Regions from separate parts of the Homo sapiens genome. Here regions 2, 3 and 4 are each linked to region 1. Evidence: promoter capture Hi-C in 16 types of primary human blood cells and fetal thymus (Javierre and others, 2016). All regions are on one chromosome and are shown on one strand. Each heading gives the region's core, a stretch centred on a gene start or on the middle of the fragment in contact. The rest is flanking DNA. Distances are from core to core; before and after follow the strand shown. Region 1 holds the start of TARDBP (TAR DNA binding protein). Region 2 holds the start of C1orf167 (chromosome 1 open reading frame 167). Region 3 overlaps FBXO6 (F-box protein 6). Region 4 has its middle 22 kb from the start of FBXO2.

What was found. Contacts are between HindIII fragments. The CHiCAGO score rates a contact against its expected background, and 5 or more counts as called.
Region 2: the fragment with the promoter of C1orf167 here is called in contact with the fragment with the promoter of TARDBP in region 1 in 3 of 17 cell types (fetal thymus, erythroblasts and total B cells); the score reaches 7.3 in fetal thymus.
Region 3: a fragment that was not itself captured here is called in contact with the fragment with the promoter of TARDBP in region 1 in 2 of 17 cell types (naive B cells and fetal thymus); the score reaches 5.4 in naive B cells.
Region 4: a contact is called between a fragment that was not itself captured here and the fragment with the promoter of TARDBP in region 1, in 1 of 17 cell types (erythroblasts). The highest score is 5.7, in erythroblasts.

Annotation. Positions count from the first base shown.
Region 1 is chr1:11,010,986-11,014,082 of GRCh38, reverse strand. It overlaps TARDBP (TAR DNA binding protein), which reads right to left and starts at 1,429. Exons shown (of 6, transcript NM_007375.4): 1 at 1,340-1,429; 2 at 118-367. The coding sequence starts at 355. RefSeq lists silencers at 111-357, 1,767-1,996 and enhancers at 719-1,686, 1,397-1,726. The HindIII fragment of the contact is 20,579 bases long and covers 1-3,097 here.
Region 2 is chr1:11,760,678-11,763,774 of GRCh38, reverse strand. C1orf167 (chromosome 1 open reading frame 167) reads right to left here and starts at 1,582. Exons shown (of 21, transcript NM_001010881.2): 1 at 1,470-1,582. It also overlaps the pseudogene LOC101060126. The HindIII fragment of the contact is 5,648 bases long and covers 1-3,097 here.
Region 3 is chr1:11,673,840-11,676,936 of GRCh38, reverse strand. It overlaps FBXO6 (F-box protein 6), which reads right to left. Exons shown (of 6, transcript NM_018438.6): 6 at 2,583-3,097. The coding sequence ends at 3,086. It overlaps MAD2L2 (mitotic arrest deficient 2 like 2), which reads left to right. Exons shown (of 9, transcript NM_006341.4): 5 at 1-89; 6 at 797-891; 7 at 1,206-1,279; 8 at 1,763-1,855; 9 at 2,121-2,457. The coding sequence ends at 2,162. Among named protein-coding and RNA genes, the nearest start is that of MAD2L2, 5.8 kb to the left of the region's middle. The HindIII fragment of the contact is 854 bases long and covers 1,029-1,882 here.
Region 4 is chr1:11,630,495-11,633,591 of GRCh38, reverse strand. No RefSeq gene overlaps it. Among named protein-coding and RNA genes, the nearest start is that of FBXO2, 22 kb to the left of the region's middle. The HindIII fragment of the contact is 9,749 bases long and covers 1-3,097 here.

The sequences.
Region 1 (3,097 bases), core at 180-2,679:
CAAGGAAATACTTAAGTTTCAGGAGACATTCTGCCACCAAAAGAGGCTAAGATCCATGGATGAGACACACACCTGAACACACTTCAGCATGATTACAAAAACCAAATGGTAACAAACCTTTTGGATAGTTGACAACATACACCAGATTTCCCCAGCCAGCATCTGGGGCATGCAGAATTCCTTCTACCAGCCGGACACCTCTCATACACTGAGACACTGGATTCCTGTAGCGAAGCCCACACGCCCCTGGAAACTGGGCTGTAACCGTGGAGAGCAGCACCGTCCCATCGTCTTCCGATGGTATTTCAATGGGCTCATCGTTCTCATCTTCGGTTACCCGAATATATTCAGACATCTTTTACTTTTCCTAAAGAGAAAAGAGATATGAATGAACAACATTCATGTCAGAATAACTGTTTCCTTATAATGATAATACCCAAACCATGTCAGAGTTCTGACTTCCAGAAAAATGCTTGTCTGGATTCGTATATGCATTGGTTATCCCTGAAAAATGACGAGGTGAAGGTAAGGGTAGTGATTTCCTATCAAAATGTGATGCCTCGCCAGTTCATTCATTCAAAAAACTTTCCCTGAAGGCTTATGATGCGTCAGGTACTGAAACTGTAACTGTGAGTCCAACGTGGCTTGCTGGTTACAAGCTAGGGTATGCAAGGGAACAATAAACAGTAGCTATTTTATGACAATCGGGTTAGTCGTTAAGTAATCCTGAAGGCAGAGGAGGAGCCTAACTGGCTGAGGCATGGGCGTGATAGGTCCCAGTCGATTTTCCTAAGCAAGCGATCCATCAGCTGAACCTGAAGACTGAATATGGGCAGTGAACCAGGTGTAAAGAACAGGAGAAAAGTTTCCCTCTGTTCCTCATTTTGGGGCTTCCGGGGGCTCTGCGAGCCCGAGCCCCAAGGCCCGCGGCGACAGGTCCTGGCGGTGCCGGCCGTCGCCTCCCAGAAGCCCGCGCGTGCCAGCCGAGGGAGGAGTTTCTCGGCGCGGCCCGGGGTGGGGCGCAGGAGCACCAGGCCCAAGCTGGCAGCGTCCCTCGAAGTACAAAGTACCGAAGGCTCCGGCACTGTCCGGGTCCGGGGCCAACCTCCGCCTCAGGCTACGCGGCACCGCGGGCCCGGCCCCCCGTTTCGGCGCCACCGGCCTCCCCGTGCCAGGACCTAACGACGCTCCCGCGCGAGCCCGCTCGGGCAGGACTAGGCCCGGTCTCACGGCTGACTTCCCGGGGCAGGGTCCGAAGCCGCTGCGTCTGCCTCGGGCCGCCCCAATGCAGAAGCCGAGGCACCTACGGCGTCCTCAGTGAGAAGGCTCCGCGACTCACCCGCTAGGCCGCTGCTGGGAAGCCCGACAGGGACACCGAAGCAGCGACGGACCCAAGCGCAGCCCAGCCACCGCTTCGCTCCCACAAAATGGCGCTAGGGCCGCCTCCTCCCCCCGCCCACCGGCGTCCTCTCCCACCGGTTGCCTGTCCAGAGGTGGAAGGCACCGACGAGAGCCACGATGACCCTCTCCCCAGGGACTCGGGCTGCCTCCTGGAAATTCAAGCCTACAGAGAAGCTCTGAAAGCTAAAATAAAACCAGGACCTAGGCCTGAAAAGCTGAAGATTGAAAAAAGTGTGGCTGTATAGGAGCTGACCTCCCCCCACGTAACGTAGCAGATGGTTTCGGCCGACCAACCGCCGGCCCAGGTCTCGGTCGGAGCTCGCGCACTTTCAAAGCGCGCGAGAGTAGCACAGAGTCTCGGCCAGCGAGGGCGGGGCGGGGCGGGGCCTGGAGGGGGCGGGGCTCGGGATCCCGGGCCGAGTCCACCTGGGAGGCAGGATAAGGCCTGGACCCCTTTTCTGAAAGGCAACCTAGTGCGTCTTCTCCTCCCTCCGCCAGCCCACCTCCAAACCTGGAAACAATAACTTTGTTCTAAATAATAGCAATGATAAGGCTACTTTGTGCCAGGTACTTTCTGAGTATTCACATATTTAATAGCCCAAACAGTTTTGTGTAGCAGGAGCTATTGATATTCATTCTGCGGGTGAGGAAACTGAGGCACAGAGAGATCAAGTGTCTTGCTTAAAGTGACGCAAGGATTAGCCGGGCGGTAGTGGCGCGCGCCTGTAGTCCCATCTACTCGGGAGCCTGAAGCAGGAGAATTGCTTGAACGCGGTAGGCGGAGGTTGCGGTGAGCCGAGATCGCGCCACTTCACTCCAGTCTAGGCGACAGAGTGAGACCCTGTCCTCCAGCCCCTCCCCCCAAAAAAATGTCACCCAAGGAATAAATGGTAGACCTGGGATTTGAATCTCGAGGCACAAAATGCTAACTTGTTCTGGCTCCAGCCCTTTAATAATAATAATAATACAGTACTTCATCTATTTTAAGGCACACTTTTTGTTTCACTTTTTTTTTTTTTTTTTTTGAGACGGAGTCTCGCTCTTGTCCCCCAGGCTGGAGTGCAGTGGCGCAATCTGCAGCTCACTGCCACTTCCAACTCCTAGGTTCAAGGGATAGCTGGGATTATAGGCGTGCAAAGACACCATGCCCGGCTAATTTTTGTATTTTTAGTAGAGACAGGGTTTGGCCATGTTGGCCAGGCTGATCTCGAACTCATGGCCTCAAGTGATCCGCCTGCCTCAGCTCCCCAAAGTGCTGGGATTACAGGCACGAGCCACCTTTCTTTTCTATCTTTTCTTTCCTTTCTTTCCTTTCCTTCCCTTCCTTTCCTCCCTTCCCTCCCTTTCCCCCCCTTCCCTCCCTTCCCACCTTCCTTCCTCCCTACCTCTCTCTCTTTCTCTCTCTCTCTCTTTCTTTTCTCTTCCTTTTTTTCAGACTCCCTCTGTTGCCTAAGGTGGAGTGCAGTGGCACAATCTCAGCTCACTGCAACCTCCGCCTCCCCGGTTCAAGCAATTCTCCTGCCTCAGCCTCCTGAGTAGTTGGGTCTACAGGCATGCACCACCATGCCCGGCTAATTTTTGTATTTTTAACCCCTGTTGGCCAGGCTGGTCTCAAACTCCTGACCTCAGGTGATCCGCCCACCTCGGCCTCCCAAAGTGCCACCACGCCCGGCCTTTGTTTCACATTTCTTTTTTT
Region 2 (3,097 bases), core at 333-2,832, 750 kb before region 1:
AACTGGTCACCCTTATTCTGCCTCGTCCTCACGCCCGACAGCCTCCTCTTCATGCGGCGGCAGGGTGATCCTGTAAACACTGAAATCAAATCATGCCCTGCCTCAACTCTAATGCCACAGAAGCTCTCCAGCCCCCTCAATGCCCCGTGAGCCTTCAAGGCTGTAGGCCAGAGGTTAGCAAATTACTGCCTGGGCCAGTGGTCTATTATGTGAATAAAGTTATATTGAAACAAAGCCCATTTGTTTACAGACTGTCTGCTTTCCAGCTGCAATAGCAGAGCTCAATAGCTGCAAGATACCTTAGGCTGCAAAACCTTTTTTTTTTTTTTTTTGAGCCGGAGTCTCACTTTGCCACCCAGGCTGGTACAATGGCGTGATCCCGGCTCACTGCAACCTCCGCCTGCCTCCCTGGGCTCAAGGGATCCTCCCACCTCAGCCTCTAACAAGCTGGAACCACAGGCACATGCCACCACGCCAGACTAATTTTTCTATTTTTTGGTAGAGACAGGGTTTCACCATGATGGCCAGGATGGTCTCGAACTCCTGACCTCAGGTGATTGGCCCGCCTCGGCCTCCCAAAGTGCTGGGATTACAGGCGTGAGCCACCACACCCAGCCCCGCAAAGTCTTTAAAATCTGGCTGCCAGTTATGGTCCTCCCCAATTCCTCTTCCCCTTGCCCACTGTCCTCCACACACACCAGCCCCCTGGCTGCTCCTCCAAATGGCACACACGACCTCACCTCAGCGCCTCTGTGCTGCTGTCCCCTCTGCCTTCAAGTCTTGCCTCCCACATCACAGTGAGCCCTCCCTGCCCACTGTCTCTCCAACTGCAGCAACCTGGCCTCTCCTCACTCTCTTTGCCCTGCACTTGCGGCCACCTAACATAGTGAAGAAATTAGTGTATTTCTCCCTCCAGTGGCCTAGGAGCCACACGAGGGCAGGCTGGTTTTTTTTGTTTGTTTGTTTCCCTGCTGGATTTGCAGCCCATAGAACAATGCCTGACCCCCAGCAGGGGCTTGTAAATGCACATTGAATAAATGACAACCGTGCTAGGCACCTTGCAGCCTTCAGCAGGCGTCCTGCCATTTAATCTGCACTGCAGCCCTGGGACTTAGGTTCCCTGTTTTAGAAATGAGGACAGGAGCTTAGAAGGGCCTGTCCCACCCAAGGCCTCAGAGGGAGCACCCCAGGGCTGGCTCCACAGCGCAGACTCCTAACCAAGAACACCCCACCATCCCCTCTTGCCCAAGTTGACTTGAGGCCGCTCAATCCACAGGAGACCTTCCTGCACCCCTGCCCCTCACGCCGGAGCTCTTCGGTCCATTTCTCCGCTCCTCGTCCGTCTCCCTCAGACTCCCCCCTCCCACTCCACCCCCACCCCTGTCCACTTAAGGGGGCTCACAGCCTCCCTCCTCTTGCCACCAAAAGAGTCTGAGGTCAGTTTCCTGCCCTCATGGATCTGCCCTCACGTGCGTGGGTCCTCCTCGGGTCCTCCTTCACCCAGTCGGATTTGAATCTAGACGGGGGCTGGGACCGCTAACGATCCCCGCAGGTCGGCAGGTCGCGGGCGGGAGGGGACGTCGGAGAGCAGAGCGTGCTGCCCCGCGCTTGGCCCCGCCCAGCCCTGAGCCGTGGGCGTGGCCACCGACGTCCTGGTACAGGTTTTGCCGGGTCCTCCGCAGGCAAGGCACGTGGTCCCAGGGCAACTTTTGCACGTGCAAGATGAGCGACATTCTCTTGGCCATCAGGTCCCCGGGAACCTCCTCCACCCTCTGCCCCGAATCCTGTGGCAGCATCACTGGGGTCTGGGCTTCCTCCACCAGGCGTGCCTCCTCTTGGCTCCTTCCCGCACCTAGAGCTGCCTCCTGGAGCCCCCGCACATCTGGGATACCCCCAGCCATGTCCCCACCACCTATGCCTCTTGGGGCTGCAGGACATGCCCCCGGCTCCCACTGGTAGGAACCCCAGGGGCAGGACATCCGGGTCATGGACACTCACATCCTCACCCGTTCCCAATAGGTGCGATGTCCCATCCAGGGATGTCTCAGATGCAGCTGGCAAACCATGGCCCTCATGGCTGAGGACACACCCGTGATGGGACCCCAGGATCTGGGGGGCAGCCACCACCCTGATCACCACCTGGAATGCCTCATCCTGGACCTCCTCCAATGAGCATGTCCCCCAAGGGGTCTCGGTCTGGATCTCCCATGGGTCACTCACGTCCTATGCCTCCATGGTATGTGTGGACCTCCTCCACCGATGCTGCCTCATGGATACACTGGCCCTCCCCAACACCCACCCTATGGCTTCCGGGGGGGACTCTCCCTCCACCCAGACCCACTCCGGGGCCTCCAGTTCCCCCTCAAGGCCCACTTTGGGGCCCTCTCCCTCAGTAAATTCACATTCTTCTTCCTCCTGTTATATCTTCCCAATATCTTTTTGATTCCTTGGACCAGAGATGCTGCAGCTCCTTGCAACTAAGGCACAAATCCCTTTCAGCCTTCCCATCTTCCTTTTTAATGCCATTTTTTTCCCCATAGAAGGTATTTCTTTTTCATGTTGGTCCTAAGTATTTTGCAAATGCAAAGGAAAATAAAACTATAACAAATTTCTTGTTAAAAGAAAGAAAGAAAGAAAGGCTAGGCACAGTGGCTCACACCTGTAATCCCAGCACTTTGGGAGGCTGAGGTGGACGGATCACAAGATCAGGAGTTCAAGACCAGCCTGGCCAACATGGTGAAACCCTGTCTCTACTAAAAATACAAAAATTAGCCGGGCATGGTGGCGGGCACCTGTAATCCCAGCTACTCAGGAGGCTGAGGCAGGAGAATCACTTGAACCTGGGAGGCAAGGGTTGCAGAGAGCCAAGATCCTGCCATTGCACTCCAGCCTGAGCAACAGACCAAGACTCTGTCTCAAAAAAAAAAAAAAAAAAAAAAGAAAAAAAGAAAAGAAAAGAAAAGGCTGGATGTGGTGGCTCATGCCTGTAATCCCAGCACTTTGGGAGGCCGAGGCAGCCGGATCACTTGAGGTCAGGAGTTCAAGACCAGCCTGGCCAACATGGCAAAATCCCATCTCTATTAAAAATACAAAAAGT
Region 3 (3,097 bases), core at 206-2,705, 660 kb before region 1:
AAAGTGGTGGTGGTGATTTTGGATAAAGAGCACCGCCCAGTGGAGAAATTCGTCTTTGAGATCACCCAGCCTCCACTGCTGTCCATCAGGTGGGCTGCCCCTGCCCCTCGCCCACTAGCTGGCATCAGGTGTGTCTCTGGCAACACACCCACCCCTTTAAGGCGGCCCTTGAATACCTTGGTAAAGGCCTGGGAGGAGAAAGGGCAAGAAGCACCAGCATGACAAGGGGACAGCCTGTGAGCAGCTGAGATGGGTCCAGAGAGATGACATGAGCTACCCAGGGTCACCTGGGTGGGGGCAGAGCCCAGGACACAGAAGCAGTTTTCTGACTCCCCAGGCAAGTGTCCAGTCAACTCGAAGTTGACCTCTGGCACATGCGTTAGTTGGTCAACTGCATGCTTCCAATGGTGAGGTCAGGGCACTGGAATCTGGCACCAACCTGTCCCCACGGCCTGTGTGGCCTTAGGCAAGCCCTTTCCCCTCCTGGCTTGGTGTCCTGGTTCTGGGTCCTGGCTGCACATTAAAACCACCTAGGGAGGCCTCCTCAGGCTGCCCCTACCTCCCCTGTCCCCTACCCCCCGCCGAATTCTGACTTTATCTGGGGTGGGGCTGGGCATTTCTTTTAAACTCCCTTGCTGGTTTAATTGTGTGGACCGGATAGGGAGCTGGGTCCTAGGCATGCAGCACTCTCACAGGCACTGGAGGGGGTCTTGTACCCCAGGTCTGCATCCAGGCTTGATGCCTGTGGTGGAGGGGAGGGCGCCAGTGTGATGGGAAGACCTCCTCTCACTCCCAGCTCAGACTCGCTGTTGTCTCATGTGGAGCAGCTGCTCCGGGCCTTCATCCTGAAGATCAGCGTGTGCGATGCCGTCCTGGACCACAACCCCCCAGGTGTGTCCACTCCCCACCCTCTCTTCCCTTGGCATTTCCATGGTTATCTCGGGTTGGTCTGTGTTCCCAGGTCCATGTTTGGCTGTTCTGAGACTCATCTCTTCCTAACCCTGAGAGTCCACCTCCTCTGGGAAGCTTCCCTGATTGATTCTACCTGGCTTCCATCTCCCTATTGACTGGGGCTTTTCTTAGCACTTGCTTTGCCATCTGCTCTGGGGGTGCTGCTGAGCCAGCAAGGGAAGTGGGAAGAGGCTGGGCCCAGTGGCTGGCACCAGGGCGGTGGGGGAGCCTCCACCAACCTCTTGCCTCTCCAGGCTGTACCTTCACAGTCCTGGTGCACACGAGAGAAGCCGCCACTCGCAACATGGAGAAGATCCAGGTCATCAAGGTGAGATGAGATGGGTCTGGGTCTGGGCGCAGGCTCTAGAAACGTGATGTCGCAGTTCCAGGCGGGCAGGGGCACTGCCTGTGGCCAGCCACCCATTACATTGGTGTGGCAGCGCCTGGCACCCAGCAGGTCCTCAGGCCTGTCCACTGCTCCATCTGGGCACTTGGGGCAGTGAGGAGCCCAGGTGGAGCCACCTACTGGGGCCCCCAGCTCATCCTGGCTCTTCTGAAGTGGGGGCTCTCCAGGGAGGGGTCCTAGCCCACCAGGTTCAGCGTTGGTGCCTGGAGCCTGTTCGTCACTTGGGTTCTATGGACTTGGCCTCTGTGGGGGATGGGGGCGGTCCTGGGGTCTGCATCACCAACAGCTTCCTAGTGATTCTGAGGCTCAGGTTGGAGGCCCCTGGTCTGGAGTGGGAGGGACAGCAAAGTGAGGGCAGGCCAGGGCCCAGCCCCGTCACCCCCCTGACCTTTGTCTCCTCCCTAGGATTTCCCCTGGATCCTGGCGGATGAGCAGGATGTCCACATGCATGACCCCCGGCTGATACCACTAAAAACCATGACGTCGGACATTTTAAAGGTGAGCTTCGTGGGGACCCGGGAAGCTTTATTTAGGGGCTGCTTAACGAAGTGAGGCCCGGTGCTGAGGCCTTACTAGAGGGCTTGCGGGAGAGAACGGGGGAGTGCCTGGTGGAGGGCTCCTCCCATCTCTACTCTTCTCCACCATGGCTATGGCCACGAGGCCCCACCTGTGGTGGAGGTCTGCCCACCAGGGGCTTCTGTGTCCTCCAGCAGGGATGCCCTGGCTGTCTTGCTGACTGTGGCTGTTTGCTTGTGTCCGTCAGATGCAGCTTTACGTGGAAGAGCGCGCTCATAAAGGCAGCTGAGGGGGCACCTGCCACCCCACTGATGCCCAAACTGTCAGACTTTGGGGGATCCCCGCCTAGGGCAGTGCTGCATGGCTGCCCTGATTCCAAGTGCTCTTATCGCCTCTGTGTGTGGATCGCCCGCCCCAGCCCGGGGCCGCTCAGGTCTGCTTGGAGGATGCCTCCCCCAGGAGGGCAGTGAGGGATGCCGCAACCTCGACTTCTCAGCCTCCTGGGGTTCCGCCGGCCAACACTGTCTGTCTCAAATACTGTGCTGTGAGTTGTTTCAATAAAGGGGCCCCAAGGGCTGGGCTGAGCTGAGCCATCATTAACTGGAGTGGGAGGGACAGGTATGGCCAGGGTAACCTGGGAGAGGGGCTGCTTCTCCACCAAAATGCCAGGGACCCCCTCTCCCCACTCCTAAAACCAACCCCAGGCTGGTTTTACTGAAAACATTTATTTTTTATTTATTTATTATTATTATTATTTTATGAGCCAGAGTCTCGCTCTGTCACCCAGGCTGGAGTGCAGTGGCGTGATCTCGGCTCACTGCAAGCTCTGCCTTCCGGGTTCACGCCATTCTTCTGCATCAGCCTCCCGAGTAGCTGGGACTACAGGCGCCCGCCACCACGCCCGGCTAATTTTTTGTATTTTTAGTAGAGACAGGGTTTCACCGTGTTGGCCAGGATGGTCTCTATCTCCTGACCTCGTGATCCACCTGCCTCGGTCTCCCAAAGTGCTGGGATTACAGGCGTGAGCCACAGTGCCCGGCCTGAAAACATTTATTACAACAAAACGTCAGAGCTATGTGACAGTAAGTTACCACAAGCTGGTAGGGTTGAACCGGGGCAGGAGTCGCTGGTACAGGGACCTCACTGCCCACCCCATGCTCAGCTCCTGCCTGGAGGAACCTCTGGCTGACCCAGACACAGGATGGACAGCTGTCAGAAAATCTG
Region 4 (3,097 bases), core at 192-2,691, 620 kb before region 1:
CTGGGCAACAGAGTGAGACTCTGTCTCAAAAAGTAAAATAAACAGAGCAAGACTCTGTCTCAAAAAGTTAAAAAAAAAAAAAAAATGGAGTCTCACTCTGTCACCTAGGCTGGAGAGCAATGGTGCGATCTTGGCTCACTGCAATCTCCCCCTCCTGGGTTCAAGAGATTCTCCTGCCTCAGCCTCCCGAGTAGCTGGGATTACAGGTGTGCACCACGATGCCCGGTTGTAATTTTTGTATTTTTAGTAGAGATGGGGTTTCGCCGTGTTGGCCAGGCTGGTCTCGAACTCCTGACCTCAAGTGATCTGCCCGCCGCAGCCTCCCAAAGTGCTGGGATTACAAGCATGAGCCACCACAACCAGCCTAGTCCCATTTTTGAGATGAAGAAACTGAGGCATGGAGGGTGACTTGTCACAAGCCAAATGGCTACCAGTGGCAGAGCTGGGAGTGGACGGAGGTAGCCTGTCTCCAGATTCCAGCTTCTTAACCACTATGCTATAATGCCACATTCAGGGCCCTCTGCTTGGAGAATATTTGTTCATTGAACACATAAAGGGCTCATCGGGTGTGTTCTATCCCTACCCAGGGAGGAGATGCCATAACAAAGTGATCCAAAGGGAGCTAAGCTAACCCCCACCCAGATGAACTTCCCGTTCCTGGACCTCAGGCCCTGGTGCTTCTTTCATGCACTAGAGGCTTTCAAGAGGGGGGATCCTTTTGCCAAGACCCCCAGAGCTTAAAGGGGGGAGTCTTTATCCTCTCTCCCCCTCTCCACCATAGACAACTCCCTGCCGGCTCTCTGTGCTCTGTCTGTCTGTAATCCCCCAATTGCACTTAATGGGGCAGTGAGGTGCAGTTGGATACCATGGTTTGTGCCCCAGCTTTGCTACTTACAGCCTATGTAAATAGCAAACATTTCACCTCCTGCCCTCACTGTCTTCATCTCTGAAATGGGGTCCTAATCATACCTAACTCAGAGTGTTGAGGATTAAATGAGATCGTGGAGGTGCAGTGCTTAGTAGGGGCACACAGCAAAGGCCCAGCATAAGACAGCTGTAACTTCCTTTTCCTTCCTTCCTTCCTTCCTTCCTTCCTTCCTTCCTTCCTTCCTTCCTTCCTTCCTTCCTTCCTTCCTCCCTCCTTCCCACACTCCCTCCCTCCCTCGCTCCCTTCTGTTTTTGTTTTTGTTTGTTTTGTTTTGTTTTGTTTTGTTTGAGATGGAGTCTCCCTCTGTCACCAAGGCTGGAGTGCAATGAAGTGGTCTTGGCTCACTGCAACCTCTGCCTCCCAGGTTCAAGCGATTCTCCTGCCTCAGCCTCCTGAATGGCTGGGATTACAGGCTTGCACCACCACGCCCAGCTAATTTTTGATGAGGTTTTGCCATGTTGGCCAGGCTGGTTTTAAACTCCTGACCTAAGGTGATCCTCCCACCTCAGCCTCCCAAAGTGCTGGGATTACAGGTGTGAGCCACCACACTTGGCCTACTTTTTCTTTTTCCTTCCTTCCTTCCTTCCTTCCTTCCTTCCTTCCTTCCTTCCTTCCTTCCTTCCTTCCTTCTTCCCTCCCTCCCCTCCCTCTCCCCTTCCCTTCCCTTCCCCTTCCTCCCTTTCTCTTTCTTTCTTTTTCTCTTTCTTTCTTTCTTTCTTCCTTCTTTCTTTCTTTCTTTCTTTCTTTCTTTCTTTCTTTCTTTCTTCCTTCCTTCCTTCCTTCCTTCCTTCATTCCTTCCACTTTCTCTCTCTCTCTGAGCCCATGTCCTCAGTAACAGTCTGTGCCTACTCAGTGTTACTGGGCCCCCAACTTCCAGTGTTGGGGCATTTTTAACTGCTTGGTGGAAAGAGAGCTGCCAAGATCACATTTTTGCTCTGCATCTGATGCTGCACCCATCACGCTCTCAGCATGGCCCCAATCTCCCTGCCCCCTGCCCACAGCCCATCTTCGTGTTCTTTCCACTCTCTGTCCTGCTCCATCCTTTACCTGGTCTTCTCTGGGGTTGTCATGCAGCCATTTATTCCCTCAACCAAAAGAAAAACACAGAAACTCGCTCCTAATTAGATGCTTTCCGTCTCCCCAGGTCTTCACTTCTTGCATGTTCTCAACTTGTTAGAGGAAATCATATACTGACATTGGTATTGATTTGCATAATTCAGATATAATTAGGAGAAAGACTTGCCGGAGTGGCAGGCAGTGGGATTGGTGCTGCTGTATCCTGCTGACCTTGGGGAGAACTTAGAACTGGGCTCTTAACTCTTACCAAGTTCATGTTTACTTTCTCTGCAAAGCCCTGTAGGCACTAGTCCCCTGAGCTCACTCTTCCATGAGGTTTTAAGGCAACAGAGAAGGCTCCCTTCCCCCCGGAGTGTCCTCTTGCCCACCCCAGCATCTGGAATTCTGACCATGAGGGCTGTCGTATGGGGCCTGCTGGGGATGCAGAAAGACTTTCTACTGTCCTGGAGGTCAGCAGGCACAGGAGTCATCTTGCATGTGACGCCCACCATCTGGAGCTAGCAAGAGGATTTCAGGGTAGTGTCATCTTGACAGTTGGAGGAAGAAAAAGTCCCAAGCCCAAGCAGTGCTTGAAGCAAGAGAGTAGAAATTAGTGTGACCCAGTGAATTCTATTGCTGCCATGATGAAAAGTGCTGGTGCATTCTTGGAAAGATTAGGAACATAACGAGCCAGAGAAACAGATGAAAAATGCACGCCCGTGCCTGTTCTGTTTGTAACCGTTTCTTCATGCCTTTATTTATTCATCTATTCATTCAGCAAGTATTTATTGAGGGGCTAATATGTGCCAGGCACATAAAAGAATTAGGAGGCCGAGCATGGTGGCTCATGCCTGTAATCTTAGCACTTTGGGAGGCCAAGGCGGGATGATCACTTCATCATAGGAGTTTGAGACTAGCCTGGGGAACACGGTTCAACCCCTTCTCTACAAAAAAAAAAAAAAAAAAAAAAAAGGCTGAGCATGGAGGTACACGCCTGCGGTCCTAGCCACTTGGGAGGCTGAGGTGGGAGGATTGCTCGAGCCCAGGAGGTTGAGGCGGCAGTGAGCCAAGTTTGTGCTGCTGCACTCCAGCCTATGACATAGGGAGACCCT